Linked DNA regions of Homo sapiens: regions 2, 3 and 4 are each linked to region 1. Evidence: promoter capture Hi-C in 16 types of primary human blood cells and fetal thymus (Javierre and others, 2016). All regions are on one chromosome and are shown on one strand. The core of a region is centred on a gene start or on the middle of the fragment in contact, and the rest is flanking DNA. Distances in the headings are between cores, read along the strand shown. Region 1 holds the start of DNAJC7 (DnaJ heat shock protein family (Hsp40) member C7). Region 2 holds the start of TUBG1 (tubulin gamma 1). Region 3 holds the start of COASY (Coenzyme A synthase). Region 4 has its middle 5.9 kb from the start of NAGLU.

What was found. Contacts are between HindIII fragments. The CHiCAGO score rates a contact against its expected background, and 5 or more counts as called.
Region 2: the fragment with the promoter of TUBG1 here is called in contact with the fragment with the promoter of DNAJC7 in region 1 in 1 of 17 cell types (fetal thymus); the score reaches 5.2 in fetal thymus.
Region 3: a contact is called between the fragment with the promoter of COASY here and the fragment with the promoter of DNAJC7 in region 1, in 3 of 17 cell types (neutrophils, fetal thymus and activated CD4 T cells). The highest score is 7.4, in neutrophils.
Region 4: a fragment that was not itself captured here is called in contact with the fragment with the promoter of DNAJC7 in region 1 in 1 of 17 cell types (fetal thymus); the score reaches 8.8 in fetal thymus.

What each region holds. Positions count from the first base shown.
Region 1 is chr17:42,015,530-42,019,548 of GRCh38, reverse strand. It overlaps DNAJC7 (DnaJ heat shock protein family (Hsp40) member C7), which reads left to right and starts at 2,110. Exons shown (of 14, transcript NM_003315.4): 1 at 2,110-2,209. The coding sequence starts at 2,133. It also overlaps a transcript of NKIRAS2 not described here. RefSeq lists a silencer at 1,802-1,951 and enhancers at 2,062-2,471, 2,542-2,591, 1,702-2,901. The HindIII fragment of the contact is 9,207 bases long and covers 1-3,345 here.
Region 2 is chr17:42,607,485-42,611,503 of GRCh38, reverse strand. TUBG1 (tubulin gamma 1) reads right to left here and starts at 1,821. Exons shown (of 11, transcript NM_001070.5): 1 at 1,718-1,821; 2 at 1,284-1,396; 3 at 914-1,081. The coding sequence starts at 1,766. RETREG3 (reticulophagy regulator family member 3) reads left to right here and starts at 2,130. Exons shown (of 9, transcript NM_178126.4): 1 at 2,130-2,418. The coding sequence starts at 2,180. RefSeq lists an enhancer at 2,139-2,248. The HindIII fragment of the contact is 4,939 bases long and covers 1-2,874 here.
Region 3 is chr17:42,560,198-42,564,216 of GRCh38, reverse strand. It overlaps COASY (Coenzyme A synthase), which reads right to left and starts at 2,069. Exons shown (of 9, transcript NM_025233.7): 1 at 895-2,069; 2 at 42-256. The coding sequence starts at 1,594. RefSeq lists enhancers at 1,544-1,733, 1,744-1,993. The HindIII fragment of the contact is 14,901 bases long and covers 1-4,019 here.
Region 4 is chr17:42,528,356-42,532,374 of GRCh38, reverse strand. No RefSeq gene overlaps it. Among named protein-coding and RNA genes, the nearest start is that of NAGLU, 5.9 kb to the left of the region's middle. RefSeq lists a silencer at 96-245. The HindIII fragment of the contact is 6,143 bases long and covers 1-4,019 here.

The sequences.
Region 1 (4,019 bases), core at 861-3,360:
TTGGTGGTAGAAAGGACCTAAATATTGGTACTCAAATTAAATTATTTAAAAAAAGAAACAGATAATCAAAGGCTTTGTGTGGTAGGCCAAAGAGATCAAATTGACGGCAATGGAAAGCCATTGCCAATGAAGAGACATGATCAGTCCCTGAGGAAGGTCACTCTGGCAGAAGAGGGAAGACTGAACAGAGATGAAATTAGAGACCGATTAGGAGACTATTGATGTATTCCAAGTTTTTTTTTCTGTTGTTTTGTTGTTGTTGTTGTTGCCGTTTTTGAGACAGGGTCTTGCTCTTTTCTCCATGCTGGAGTACATTGGTGTGATCATAGCTCACTGCAGCCTCTAACTCCTGGGCTCAAGTGATCCTCCTGCCTCAGCCTCCCAAATAGCTGGGACTACAGATGCATGCCACCACACCCAGCCTATTCCAAGATTTTAAAAAATGATGAGCGCCTGAATCGGGATGGAAAGGTGGAGATAGATTTGGGAAATATTTGGTAGGAGAATCAACAAAACTTGGCAACAAATTGGAAGCCAAGAGTGAGAATGGTTTAATCCATTTAACAAGATACGGAATTTAGGAAAGATAATAATTACATCCAACATTTGTTTTTTCTGTTGTTGAGGTGTGGGTAGACAATGAAAAAGTTAAATTTAAATATGGTAAGCCTTGGGGATTTGTGAAACATACAAGAGATATCCAGTAGATAGTTGGATATACAGCTGTGGAAGCTGAAGAAAGGTCTAGGTTGGAGATATGAAAAGTTGAGAGTCATCAACAGATGGAAGTAAAGCTGTGGGAATAAATGAGTTGCCTTAGATAGAACATAAAGTGGGAAGATGGTGAGACAGGTTGGCTAGCATTAGACTGGACTATGAGCCACTGGCAGGCAGGGCAGGTGGTCTGTAAGTCTTGTGCCCTCACAACCTAGCACAGAGTAGGCGTTTTGGAAAGGGCTGAGTGATTGGCTCAACGAATGACCCCTCCTTTCCAACCTAGTGAGCTTGTCCTATCCCTCCCTACTCAGTGGTCGCTGTGGTTTCAGCTCCCTCCACACTGGGATAGGCAGAGTATGAGCATTGGCACATGCTGTTTTCCTGGAACAAACAGGTAAATCCTTTTAAAATTCCTTTGCCCTCTTCTTATTTTACTCTTAGCTTTACATTGTAAAGCTACTCCTCATACTCCTCCAATTTAACCCCAGAAAGCTCCAATTTAATTCAGCTCCACAAATAGTCGTTTGGGTGAGGGAATAACAACAAAGACAGTTAAACTGTGCCCTTGTCCCCTATGAATTCTCAATCCAGACCGCATTCGGCAAGGCAAGCGTGATGAGTAGAGAGTTTATATAAGAGGTGGGAGTACTGGGGACACAAGAGCAAGGACCTCACCCCGCGAGCTTCCTTATAAACTCCAGGGCAGGGTCTGGGGCGCCATGTGTCAGCTTTCCTAGGCTTAATGCTGAGATGGCACTCCCAGGCGGCTGACATGAAAGGAGCCTTGTAAAAGGGTCAGCGTCATTAGGGTGATGAACCAGTTGGTGTTTGGAGATCCGGAGTGGATGAAAGGCGCAGGGTGAAGACGCCCTGCGTTCCCCTGGCTTGACTGGGCAGGGCTTCCAGAGAACGATGAAAGCTGGGGGAACTGAGCTCAAAGTGTCTCTTGACTTTCCCGGGAAGAAGCTGTGGACACACTCCAAGGTCGGAAAGGTAGCAGTGGGGACTCCTTCCCTACAGAGTCTTGGGTCACCTGGTCCCCACGCAACCCAGACTCCACGGAGCCTTTCAGGAAGACTCTCTAGGATTGGAAGTTGCTATGGCAATGAGGCTCTTGGAATACTGAAAGCAGCCAAGCCCTAGAGAGGCTACCACCGGTACACCCCGCCTTCCCACCCACGGGTAAAGTGGCGCCGCCTACGCACCGGCACAGCCCCTGGGCTCCCGCCCCGGCGCGGAGACCACCGTGGACATCCGGGGGCGGGAGGCCGCTCTGGCCCCAAGCGGAGCCTCTCTCTGGTAGACGAGCCCGAGGGAGCCCTTCTGGGCGCGGCGCCGCGGAGCTGCTCTATGCTCCAACCGGAAGTGCTCTTCACCGCCGGCCTCCCACCCAGCTCTCTGGTCCCGGCGGTAAGATGGCGGCTGCCGCGGAGTGCGATGTGGTAATGGCGGCGACCGAGCCGGAGCTGCTCGACGACCAAGAGGCGAAGAGGTAACCGGGTAGCAGGGTAGTAGAGGAGGCGACCTGCAGCTCCGTGGCTCAGGGAAACTCGTTCCTGCCATGATGCAGCCCCCAGCTGTTGAGGCGATGCCCCGCCCTCCGCAAACACCCCCCCATCTGAGATCAAGGCCGGATGGACCCCCTGAAGGGGCGCTCTTGGGGGTCGGCCTTCCTCTCCCGCTTCCGCCTGGCGTAGGAGCTGAGGCATGGCCTTGTTCTCCAGCTGAGAGGACGATCGTCCTTATAGGAGAGGCCGAGTCTCCGAGGGCAATTTCAGAGGTCTGGTGCGAGGTGGGGGAAGCGGCGCGGCGTCGATGACGACTTCCTTACATCGCCCCCGACCCCCGCGTTCTCTTGTTAACTTCTGTGCATTGTTGCCTGTCTGCACTTTCCGTCTCCAAAACCTTTGCTCTCCTCACCCCGTTTTCCCTTGTAATTATACCCCAGCGATCACTAGTCTGGGTTCGAAGTGATTGTGTGTCTCCATAATTGACCTGGTTGCCCCCGGTTATCCCAGAAGTCAAAGATGACAGAGAAAAAAAGGAAGAGCGAGGGGCTTATCTCGTGTTCTCTACGTCAGACTCCTCTTCCCCTGTCCTTCCTGGGTGATCTTTATCCTTCCCAGCACTGTTCTTTCTTAAGTTAAGCACCAAGGAAGAGGGCAACTGCTTGGGCGCTGTTGGCACTCCGAAGCAGCCGCAGTGGTTCGAGATTGCCAGTCGGACTAGCCAAGGGAGCTGCTGAGTGAGTGGTTTTCGAGAACGCTCTAGATTCTGGCAACAGTTAGGCCAGATTATTGGAAGTGGGGTTGGAACAGAGTTGTGGGTAGTCATACTTGTTCTAATCCTAAAGCAGAATTGACAAGAAGGTTCTAGAAGTTTGGAGCCCTTTCCTTATCAGCTGCGGGTTAGTCTGACCCTTTTGTTCAAGATATCTACAGTGCCCTCAGTCTCTTTGCAACATACTTTATATCTTCATACCAAGCCCGTTGTGTCTTCAGGCTGGGTAATTTGAGGCGGTGATGTAGAATTAGTTCATGAGATCTGAAATCAGGATTCTGAGATTTTTACTATCTAATGAGTTCGAAATATAAGAAGTACTCGGACGCAATGAATAGTTATCAAGCTTGAGGGTGGTTACCACAGCCAGATCTCAAGTTCCTGATCTGCTGGGAGCTGAGGGGCCTGACAAAGTGTAATAGGCCCCTGGGATATCAGAGAAGCCAGGACACCAGAGTCCAGTCTCTGTTCTTAATTTTGAGCTTTCATGTTGTTCCTACTTCTTCCTAGATATTTAAAGCTAAGCATCATCAACCCTTATACATCATTAAAGAGCTGCACAATGGGAAACAAAATTCCTCCCAGTGCAGACGGAGCTTAAATTAATTGTAGAGATTTACTTGTATTTGGAAAGAGTTCAGTGGTTCTTTATACTGTAAATAGGGATTTGGCCACAGGTTATTTATTTTTTATTTTTTGAGACGGAATCTCGCTCTGTCGCCCAGGCTGGAGTGTAGTGGCGCGACCTCAGCTCACTGCAAGCTCCGCCTCCTGAGTTCACACCATTCTCCTGCCTCAGCCTCACCAGTTGCTGGGACTACACGTGCCCACCACCACATCCGGCTAATTGTTGTTTTTTTTTTGTATTTTTAGTAGAGATGGGGTTTCACCCTGTTAGCCACGATGGTCTCGATCTCCTGACCTCGTGATCCGCCCACCTCGGCCTCCCAAAGTGCTGGGATTACAGGCGTGAGCTACTGTGCCGGGCTGGCCATAGGTAATTTTAAAAACTCACCCTACTC
Region 2 (4,019 bases), core at 572-3,071, 590 kb before region 1:
ACAATGAAGGTAATAATACAGGTCCATATACCCTTATCTAACAGTGTTGGGGCCAGTTATGTTTTGGAATTCAAAATATTTCAGATTTTAGAAAGGTATTATGGTATATATACTATATATTAAATAAAATTCCAGTGGGAATTTTTATTTAATCAGAAGCACGTTAATCAAATATATTAGTATTTCTGTAATAAAAGGCATCACTAATGACAGTAAGTTGGATAGAAACTATAGGGCCGGGCATGGCGGTTCACGCCTGCAATCCCAGCACTTTGGGAGGCCGAGGCAGGTGGATCACGAGGTCAGGAGATCAAGACCACCCTGGCTAACACAGTAAAACCCCGTCTCTACTAAAAATACAAAAATTAGCCAGGCGTGATGGCAAGCACCTGTAATCCCAGCTACTCGGGAGGCTGAGGCAGGAGAATCGCTTGAACCCGGGCAGCAGAGGTTGCAGTGAGCTGAGAGCGTGCCACTGCACTCCAGCCTGGGCGACAGAGTGAGACTCCGTCTCAAAAAAAATAAATAAATAAAAATTAAAAAAAAGAAACTATAAAACAGCCTGTCTTCATTGAAATTTGTTTTTGCTGATAAACTAGTTATGAAATGTCCTTTGGTTTCATGGCTTTCTGGATCCTGGAAAGGCAGATAAGGGACTGTGGACCTGTAGTACTTACTTCTAGGGTTGTTGGGAGATTTAGAAAAATTAATATATGTAAAGCACTTAGAATGACCTGGCACACTGCATTAGCTAGTGTAGGCGCTTGACAATATTACATAGTCCACTCCCTGCAGCCAGGTCTCTCCCTCCAGCATTCATACATCCCTGATCCGGTTTTCCCTCTCTTCGGGACGTCATAGAGCCTGTCCCTACCCAGCGAGTTGTGGGCCCTGCCAGGGAATAGGAAACGACCTGGGAGAATCCGCTGGCCCAGTTGTTGCCAGCTCCTCCTCCATGTTCCGACAGGTAGATGTTCTCTGGGTTGTAGAGCTTGGCATAGGGGGAGTTGAGGATGGAGTGGATCACCCGGGGTTCCAAGTCCAGCAGCACGGCCCGGGGGATGTAGTGCTCATCGTCTGCCTGTCAAGGGGAGTCCAGGAGGGGGCCCAATCAGCTAGGGCGGCCCAAGTCCGAAGTCCTCCCAACTCTGGCTCCCTCCGGCCCTCCCTCCTCAAGCCAGCCGCCTGGCCCTACTGCCCAGCGGGGTTCCCAGTACCAGGCCACTCCCTTCCCTTCCGCCCCCTTGGGCAACTGCCGCCCCCGGCCAAGTCGCTGGGGGCACCTGGTAGAAAAAGACGTCCTTGCGGTCAGTGCCCTCGGTGGCGAACTCCTCCACGATGCCCTCGGGGCTGATACCATGCTCGGCGCACAGCTGTTTCCAGAACTCGAACCCAACTGGGGGGAAGGGGCGGGCAGGGGAGAAAGAAGATATCTAGGTCCGGGCAGGTTCCAATCAGGAGCCGGGGGACTGGGCGCCTGCGTCCAGGGATAAGAAGTCAAGCCGCAGGACTCTCCCGTGTCTGAGGAAAGGACTGTACGCCAGGGACTGGGCAGGGGAGGGCCCCTCGGGGTTGGGCAAGTGGACACTGGGTCAGGGATGTCTCGCCTTTCAGAGAACTACGATTCTGGCAAGGACAGATGGAGTCCAGGATCCCACAGCGAGATCCCATTGACCCTAAGGAACCTGGCTAGCTGAGGGGCCGGAGTTTCGCTCACTCTGATTGCCGCACTGGCCCAACTGTAGGGTGATGATTTCCCTCGGCATCGCTCCTCAGGCACCGGCGTTGCAGCCGCTCCCGCCCGCAACGGCGCCGCACGCCAGCCCGCTCGCCGCAAGACGCAGGCGCCAAACAACCAGCTCCACCCACGAACTTCCTCCGCTCCAATGAGAATCGAGTTCTGGCAATGAATGGCACGTCTTTAAGCACTGGCCTTCGTTCATGCAGATTGCGCGTGCGCGGCTCCGGATGCGGCTCGGCGCCTCCGGATCCGGCTCCGCGCCTCAGTGAGGGCGGGGTACGGCGTCCTCCCTCCCCTCTGGGTGGGCGCCTGCTTGGGCCTGCGCGCAAGCGCGCTGTGGTGCGAAGCCACCTCCCCCGCCGAATCGCGCATCTGCGCAGTTGCTGTTATTGTGACTTGTCGGGCCACGGCCCCGGATGTTGTGGCTGCCGCGGGGAGATGGCTGAGGCCGAAGGGGTTCCCACGACCCCAGGCCCGGCTTCGGGGTCGACTTTCAGGGGCCGCCGAGATGTGTCAGGCTCCTGGGAGCGGGACCAGCAGGTTGAGGCGGCGCAGCGGGCCCTGGTGGAGGTGCTGGGGCCTTACGAGCCTCTGCTGAGTCGGGTGCAGGCAGCCCTGGTGTGGGAGCGGCCAGCTAGGAGCGCTCTGTGGTGCCTGGGGCTGAACGCGGCTTTCTGGTGAGAGAACTGGACCCTCGGAAACCCTCCGAGTCCCGAATTCGTTGGTTCCTCTAGGGCTCTACTTCTCGCCTGCCCTGTTTTCTTCGCTGCACTGGCTCCTTCCTGTACTTGCCTAATTTTGCCTCACCTCCTTCCACTCCATCCCGCCTGCAGGCTTCGGCACCCTAGTTCTTCCCAGGGCCGTCCACCCATCTTCTCTGCCTTACCTGTGCCCGCACCCCCGCCCCGCACATCTGGCGGGAGCTTCTGGTAACATCTTGAGCCGCTCAAGAGTGAGCGAGGGCTCCTCTTTTGAGCCCGACAAAGCTGCGTCCCTTTAAAGCCATCACTTCCTTTCTCTTGTCTGCTCAAGTGCAAGTTCTAGATTGTTTCCAGAGGTTTTAGTAGTTTATTGTTGGAGTAGAGGCGTGAAGTCTTGCAAAGGTATCCATAGGTGTGATTATAAAACAAGCTTGAGCGATTCGCATGAATTAGCATGTTATATATCTAGGAAGGAAGTTTATGAAGTCTAAGCGTCAGTGTGAGCCCCCAAAGCTGAAAATTGAAAGAAAATTACAAGCTTTTAAAGAACAGTTAGGAAATGATGACGGAGATTACACGCGTGTCAAAGCCACCTGTGATTGTAACTCCTCCCTGTTCCAAGGAATTAGAGAGGCATCCTTAGCCATGGTTTATAGGCAAGGAAATTGATGTCTAATACTGTGTGTGAGTTTTCCTGAGCTGGAAAAGTAGCACTGTAAATATGCTTTATTTGTGTGTGTCATGCTCTGTGAAAATGGAACTGCTGCTTCTCTCAGTTGTCATCACCTGAAGTGGACCTAGGACTTCATAGGATCTACCAACCATAATTTTGGATTTATTTGTAATGGAGGAGGTTCCAAGGGAACTGACTTATAGGGGGCTTTCTGCTGCTGAATGGATTAAGACTATTCTGGATAAGCCTGAAACAACAAAATATGTGTGTTTTTTAATTGTGTTTTTGCTAAAAATAGCTTTCCCCTTAAAATTTGTTTTAAAATCAAAACATTTATTATCCTTTATCTGAAAGATTTTCAGTGAGCTGAAGCAGAACAAATAATTCCAAGTTCATTGACCCGAAAACAGTGTTCAGCTATTAAGCTAATCCTCTCCCAGTTTGAAAGAGACCCAGTTAAAGGTGTCACAGTAGTCTCTGGCATTTGTGGCTTCCAGAGCCTTTAGCAAACTCGATGGTAAACTTTTCCTACCACGTTCTTCATTTATTTTTGGTAGTGCTTTTTCCCTTTTTTTTTTTTTTAAGACAGAGTTTCACTCTTATTGCCCAGGCTGGAGTGCAATGGCGTGATCTCGGCTCACTGCAACCTCCGCCTCCCAGATTCAAGCATTTCTCCTGCCTCAGCCCCCCAAGTAGCTGGGATTACAGGCATGAACCACCACAACCGGCTAATTTTGTATTTTTTTAGTAGAGATGGGGTTTCTCCATGTTGGTCAGGCTGGTCTCGAACTCCCGAGGTCAGGTGATCTGCCTGCCTCGGCCTCCCAAAGTGCTGGGATTACAGGCGTGAGCCACTGCGCCTGGCCTTTTTTTTTTTTTTTTTTTTTTTGAGACAAGGTCTTGC
Region 3 (4,019 bases), core at 820-3,319, 540 kb before region 1:
TCCCCCATCCACTCCCTCTGCCAGTCTCCCTCAGGGGTTACATTCTCAAGGCGGAAGCGGTTGATGGCCATCCCCCCACGATAGGTCTCCTCGCTGACCACCAGGAACTCCAGGGAGGGGTCAGAGCCAGCGGGCCCATAGGGGTCCAGCAGGGGGATGACATCAAAAGTCAAGGAGGGCTTGATGTCCACCAGGAATTCACTCAGATGTTCCACACGTTCTGTATAAGGTTGGAGCAGCTCAGGGAGCAACTTGCCTGGGGAAGGAGCCCAGAAGAACAGTGAGATCTTTTTATTGGGGAGGAGAGTATGGGCCAGTTTGGGAAAAAGTGTCCCTAAGTACAGTATCCCCAGAGGGGGTGGCAGAAAGGGTTCAACTGGTAAGGCCTATGGTGATGGTGAGGGGAGCATGAAGGTGAAGAAACAGGCAAGCACAATAGTCACTCCAAGGGCTGGCATGTGTCCAGAGAATAAGCCACCAGGAAACCACTCCAGAGAACGAGCAGTGCCAGAGGGCATCAGAGGCAGATGGAAAATTCCAAGACCCATGCCATGCTTGAGTTTCCTCCTCCTGTCTGTGGCACTGCTACCTGCAGCTCACTCACCCATTCATTCCCAGTGTCTCATTAGGGTGTATCACCTGGAAAACTTGCTAAAATGCAGATCCCTTTGCTTCACATTTGGGGTATTCTGATTGAGTGGTGACTGGACCACATGCTGAGAAAGCTGTTCATTTGACAAAATGGCCTTAGCACCAATTGAGTGTCAACCACTGTGACATTTGGGAAGGGTGGGAAGTAATGAATGGCCCTACCCTTCCTTGATCTCGGCATAAGGGTCGGGGGTGGGGAGATTTGGGGATCCTCCACCCTAGTCCAGGGTCCCTCTTACTCACTCTTCAACAGATCTTTGTCTGCTACTCCCACCACAAGCTGCTCCTGGGCCAGGATGCACGCGACACTGAGCAACACCTTGTGGGCGTTGTGCAGGCGGTCAAACGTGCCACCGACAGCGCCACGGTAGTAGCCACGCACCGGCTGCTTTGGAGACCCGGCCACGGGGGAAGCTGGCCTGATCGTGGAGGGTAAGGGGACATCCAGGGGCTCCACGGGCACTTCTCCTATCCCATAATCGGAGTATAGCAGCACCGAGGCCAGTCGCGGACAACAGCTGTAACAGCTGGTGGCGTAACGCACTAGCTGCTGTTTGACCGGGTTGTACTGGCTTCCATCCAGGGTCTGGAAATCTGTCAACACGACTTCTGGCGGGTGGGCGAGATTCTGGACTGAGGTGGGCAGGGGAGGGAGAAAGGTGCTCTTGGTTCGGATATTGGTCAGTAGGATTCTGACGTCCAAGTGCCTGTGGACGTCGGCGCCAGCATAGAGGTGCGTGATGAAATCAAGAACCTCAAACGTGGCCTGCACGGGGCTGGACTGGGGCTGAGCCGGGCCCTCCAGGCTCATGCCCGGCTGCAGGTGAACATAGAGTGTGTGATTCACCAGCCGGGCCGCCGAGGTCAGGATGGAGGCCAGGCGAGGGGCTAGGGAGGCCAGCGGCGTCGTCAGCACCAGGAGACCCGACCGGAATACGGCCATGCTGCCCAGGCCTGCGGACAGTCAGGGAGACGAGGCGACGGTGACTGAAGGGCCTGCGGCCGAGGCAGAGGCCTGTATGGGACCTTGGACCCCAGAGAAGGAGGCCTGGAGCAGGGACGGGGTTTCAGTGCTGACCGACAGGAGCCGGGGGAGGGGACGGGGCCTGGTAGACGGCGCCTCGGGGCTGTGCTCTAAGCCTTGGTGTCCTCATTTCTCAGACGGGGCGGTGACTTCGCTGAACTGAGTCGAAATCCTGGGAGGGGGAAACTGGACAGGAACCCTTGTCACAGGGCTGGGGATCCAAAAATCCTGGGCCCTCTTGCTAAGCTGCACCAGGGTCTTCAAGGAATCGAAGAGGGAGGCTAAAGGGGGACGCTAAAGCTCACGTCGGCCCCCTACTCACTGAAACCTCAAGGCTTGGGTTCCACTTGCACCACCGCGGAGGCTTCCCTGGCTGCAACCCGGAAGCACTAACGGAGAAACCGCAACTCGGAACTACGGAAACGGAGGAAGGTCAAACGTCTCGACTTCGCTTCAGCGCGGGATTCTCGCGAGATTTCCAGTGGCATGGGCTGTGTCCTGCTGATGGGGTGGGGCTGATCCCGAAGGCTCTGGGAGTGGGTGAAGCCTTGATGCCGATCGGACCCCCGCTGGGACCGGGCGGAGAAAGGCAAGGCAGGTTTCAAAGCCCATTTCACAGATTCCCTTCTGGCCTGATGAGGAGAGATTAGTTTCAGCCAGGCCACCCAAGAGGCATCGGCAAAGCCAGAACTAACACCCAGATTTCCTTCATTCCAGGGACAGAGGTGGGGAATCACAGGGCTGCGCTGTATTAGCCCTCCTAGTACCCTCTCAGTCCGAGGATTCTCACATGGGAGGCTACTGGACAGGTCTGTCCACGTACCCATTTCACAGATGGAAAAACTGAGGCCTTGTGTGTACCTGGCTGCTGTAGGAGGCTCTCGCACCACCCAGATCCTCTGATGCGCTTGTTTGCGGGGTCTCTGTGGACAGGAGAAAAAGGCAAAGGCTGATTGGGCGCGGTGGCTCACGCCTGTAATCCCAGCACTTTGGGATGCCGAGGTGGGCAGAGCATCTGAGGTCGGGAGTTCGAGACCAACCTGACCAATATGGAGAAACCTTGTCTCTACTAAAAATACAAAATTAGACGAGCGTGGTGGCGCATGGCTGTAATCCCAGCTACTCAGGAGGCTGAGGCAGGAGAATCGCCTGAACCCGTGGGCGGAGGTCGCGGTGAGCCAAGATTGTGCCATTGCACTCCAACCTGGGCAACAAGAGCGAAACTCCCGGCCGGGCGCGGTGGCTGACGCCTGTAATCCCAGCACTTTGGGAGGCCGAGGCGGGCGGATCACGAGGTCAGGAGATCGAGACCATCCTGGCTAACACGGTGAAACCCCGTCTCTACTAAAAATACAAAAAAAAATTAGCCGGGCATGGTGGCAGACGCCTGTAGTCCCAGCTACTCGGGAGGCTGAGGCAGGAGAATGGCGTGAACCCGGGAGGAAGAGCTTGCAGTGAGCCGAGATCGCACCACTACACTCCAGCCTGGGTGACAGAGTGAGACTCCGTCTCAAAAAAAAAAAAAAAAAAAAAAAAGCGAAACTCCCTCTGGAAAAAAAAAAAGAAAAAAGAAAAAGGCAAAGGCTGGATACCTAGTGTGGGAGATTTACTGCGAAGCTAATGGGCGCTTGAAAGGCTGAGTGTGGAGGGGAAGCCAGGTTGCTATTAGAATACATCTCAGGTAAGTTGTGCATGGAGATCAAAAGGGAGAGAAGCCAGTCTCCAAGATTCCAGTAATGTGCCGTGGTATCCGAAACTTAAAAAAAAAAACAAAACTCACTTTTATATGTAATTTTGTGTTTATCTTTTGTATTCTTGAAGACGGTCTCCAAAAGCAAATAAGCCCCCAGCCCCACAAAACCTGGGCTTATGATGGAGAAAAGGAGATGCTATTTTAGATAAGGTGATTCAGGAAAACAGCAAAGACCTGGAGGAAGAGATACAGTCAAGGAGGGAAGAGTTGTAGAGCCACAAAGGTATTAAGGGACCAGGCTTCTCACAGGAGACATGTTAGATTTAAAGATAGGGTCTGATTTGAAGACACAAACAGCAAAGGCTGCCAGAGAATGTCCCAAGACATCTGGACACACAGTCTGACACACCACATACAGAGTCATTTTTATTGAGTAAATGTGTATTTTACTGCCTCCCACAGGGATGGACCAGTGAACAAAACAATGTCCCTGCCATCCTGGGGTATAGAGTACTGTGTGTCTTGGGGTTGCAGACAGGAATCATGCCACCATAAATAAATCTATAATACATGGCCAGGCGCGGTGGCTCACGCCTGTAATCCCAGCACTTTGGGAAGCTGAGGCAGGCAGATCACCTGAGGTCAGGAGTT
Region 4 (4,019 bases), core at 829-3,328, 510 kb before region 1:
GCTCAGCCTGGCAGAAATCTGCTCTCACATTCAGAATCGCCATAAATGTGCAACGTATATTCCAACGAAAAACGCTGGCGAGCTGGGGACTGGGCATTGAAGTCCGGCGGCGGCGGGAGCGAGGAGGTGCCTCTCTCCTCAGTCACCTGGGCGGCGGCGGCGGCGGCGGCTGCGGTAGCGGTGGCGGCGGCTGCGACGACTCCCCCCGAGCCTCGGCGCGCGACGCCCGGCCCGGCGGCGGCGGCGCCTCTCCACCGATCCGTTTTGCTGCTGCTGCGGCCGCCGCTGCATTTCCTGCTGCCGCCGCTGTCCTGTGGCGTCGCCTCGCGCCGTGCCTGGCCGCCGCTGCCGCTCCCTCGAACTCTTGACCTTAAGTGATCCATCTACCTCAGCCTTCCAAAGTGCTGGGATTACTTCTAAATTCTCCAGACAAGTTTTGCCTCCAGATGGCCTGTTTGATGGTCAACATGTGGTCTTTGCTCCTTAGATTGCTCCTTATCTAAATTGCTCAGATAAGAACTTTTTGTCTCCGGGGCCCGTTCGCTCTCTCACCTTTCTTAGGGTCTAGATTGGGACCCCTTTCCAGTAACAATTTTACAGATTGGGAAACAGAGCCAGAGACAGGAAATGACTTCGGCAAGATCAATAACTAGTAAGGAAAGCAGCTCTGGGCTAGAACCGGGAACTCTTAACTTCCAGAGCAGGGTTCTTGCTGCTCTTCCCCAGGCAGTGCAACTTGTCAGGCTGCCTATCTGATCAGGGAGGGCTTGAGTAAGGCTGCTCCGGGGCTGGGAGTGGCCCACTCTCCAGAAGGACTGCACTAGGTGTGCTAGATGTGGTGGCTCACACCCGTAGTCACAGCACTTAGGGAGGCCGAGGCAGGTGGAGCGCTTAAGTCCAGGAGTTCGAGACCAGCCTGGGTAACATGGAGAAACCCTGTCTCTACAAAAATCATCTGGGCACAGTGGCCTGTGTTTGTGGTCCCAGCTAGCTCCTCAGGAGGCTGAGACAGGAGGACGGCTTGAACCCAGGGGTTTGAGGCTGCAGTGAGCCATGACCACACCACTGCACTCCAGGCCAGGCAACAGAGTAAGACCCTGACTCAAAAAAAAAAATGTCTAGCCCATTGCAGTGGCCCCTGATCCTAAGAGGTTGAGGCAGGCAGATCACTTGAATCTAGGAGTCCAAGACCAGCCTGGGCAACAAGGCAAAACCCCTCCTTCTCTACAAAAAATACAAAGATTAGCCCAGCATGATGGCATGTGCCTGTGGTCCCAGCTACTGAGGAGGTTGAGAGGGTAGGCTCGCTTGAGTCTGGGAGGTCAAGGCTGCAGTGAGTCCAGATGGCACCACAGCACTCCAGGCCAGGGACTGAGCAAGGTAACACATTATCATCTGTTTATTTAAGGCTCTGTAAACAGTGGTTGTGGGAGGGAGGGGGAGATTCAGGGACACTGTGAGTGAAAGACTTTTATAATAGGGTCTTTAGTACTGTTTGATCCTTTTTTTTTTTTTTTTGAGATGAGTCTCGCTCTGTTGCCCAGGCTGGAGTGCAGTGGTGCCATCTCCTGTCTCAGCATCCCAACTAGCTGGGACTACTGGCATGTCTTGGGGTGGGGGGAGGGGTCTCAAAAAAGAAAGAACTTACTGACAACAGTATAGGTTTGGAAAAGGAAAGTTTATTAGAAAGGAAGAACACTGCAGCAGAGTGCAGCAGGTGCCTCCACGGGAGGACTGAGTGCGCTGTGGTGGATTTTCCTTAGGAGCATGTATGGACCTTAAGGTGAGAGCTTAGGGTTGTAAAATGAGCTTCAGCATGGCATAGAATGTACAGAAATTTTACGTTGTGAGGGCAGAGCCCTCAGGAATGGGGTTGGTGCCTTTGTAAGGGAGGCCAGAGAGAAAGCCCTACCCCTTTCTACCATGTGAAACCACAGTGAGAAGGCATAGCTCATAAAGCAGGAAGTGAGCCCCCACCAGACACTGAATCTATAAGCACCTTGATCTTGGACTTCCTAGCCTCCAGAAGTGTGAGAAATAAGTGTTTGTTGAATTTTTTTTTTTTTTTAAAAAGAATGTATAGACATTTTAGTTACTTATAAAAGTTGAAAGAGGCTTGGAATCAGATGCCGACTTTAAATACTAGGGAAGTTTTTTTTGTTTGTTTTTTCTTTTGAGACAGAGTCTCCCTCTGTCGCCCAAGCTGGAGTGCAGTGGCCTGATCTCAGCTCACTGCAACCTCTGCCTGCTGGTTCAACCAATTCTCCTGTCTTAGTCTCCTGAGTAGCTGGGATTACAGGCATGCACCATCATGCCCGGCTAATTTTTGCAGGGAGGGTGTTTCATCATGTTGGCCAGGCTGGTCTCTAACTGTTGACCTCAAGTGATCCACCTGCCTTGGCTCCCAAAGTGCTCACAAAGTGTGTGTGATTCACCATGCCTGGCCTTTATTACTTCTAAATTCCCCAGGCAAGGAGTTTCGCCTCCAGATGGCCTGTTTGATGGTCAACAGGTGGTCTTTGCTCCTTGGATTGCTCCTTTTTTTTTTTTTTTTTGAGACGGAGTCTTGCTCTATCACCCAGGCTGGAGTGCAGTGGTTCGATCTCTGCTCACTGCAAGCTCCGCCTCCCGGGTTCATGCCATTCTCCTGCCTCAGCCTCCCGAGTAGCTGGGACTACAGGTGCCCCGCCACCACGCCCAGCTAATTTTTTGTATTTTTAGTAGAGACGAGGTTTCACCATGTTAGCCAGGATGGTCTCGATCTCCTAACCTCGTGATCCACCCGCCTCGGCCTCCCAAAGTGCTGGGATTACAGGTGTGAGCCACTGCGCCTGGCGGATTGCTCCTTATCTAAATTGCTCAGATAAGAACTTTTTGTCTTGGGGGGGGTGATTTTTGCTCTCCTCACCTTTCTTTGGGTCTAGATTGGGACCCCTTTCCAGTAACAATTTTACAGATTGGGAAACAGAGCCAGAGACAGGAAGTGAGTTGGGCAAGATCAATAACTAGTAAGGAAAGCAGCTCTGGGCTAGAATCGGGAACTCCTGACTCCCAGAGCAGGGTTCTTGCTGCTCTTCCCCAGGAAATGCAACTTGTCAGGCTGCCTATCTGATCGGGGAGGGCTTAAGTAAGGTTGCTCCGGGGCTGGGAGTGGCCCAGTCTCTAGAAGGACTGCACTAGGTGTGCTAGATGTGGTGGCTCACACCTGTAGTCACAGCACTTAGGGAGGCTGAGGCAGGTGGAACACTTGAGTCCAGGAGTTTGAGACCAGCCTGGGTAACATGGAAAAACCCTGTCTCTACAAAAATCATCTGGGCACAGAGGCCTGTGTTTGTGGTCCCAGCTAGCTCCTCAGTAGGCTGAGGTGGGAGGATGGCTTGAGCCCAGGGGTTTGAGGCTGCAGTGAGCCATGATCACACCACTGCACTCCAAGCCAGGCAACTGTTGGGAACAAGCCCCGCAAAATCTGGCCATAAACCGGCCCCAAAACTGGCCATAAACAAAATCTCTGCAGCACTGTGACATGTTCATGATGAACATAACGCCCACGCTGGAAGGCTGTCAGTTTACCAGAATGAGGGCAAGGAACACGTGGCCTGCCCAGGGTGGAAAACTGCTTAAAGGCATTCTTAAGCCATAAACAATAGCATGAACGATCTGTGCCTTAAGGACATGCTCCTGCTGCAGTTAACTAGCCCAACCTATTCCTTTAATTGCCCATCTCTTCGTTTCCCACAAAGGATACTTTTAGTTAATTTAATATCTGTAGAAACAATGCTAATGACTGGCTTGCTGTTAATAAATATGTGGGTAAATCTCTGTTCAGGGATCTCAGCTCTGAAGGCTGTGAGACCCCTGATTTCCCACTTCACACCTCTATATTTCTGTATGTGTGTCTTTAATTCCTCTAGCGCCGCTGGGTTAGGGTCTCTCTGACCCAGCTGGTCTCGGCAGCAACAAAGCAAGACCCTGACTTAAAAAAAAAAAAAAGTCTAGCCCGTTGCGGTGGCCCCTGATCC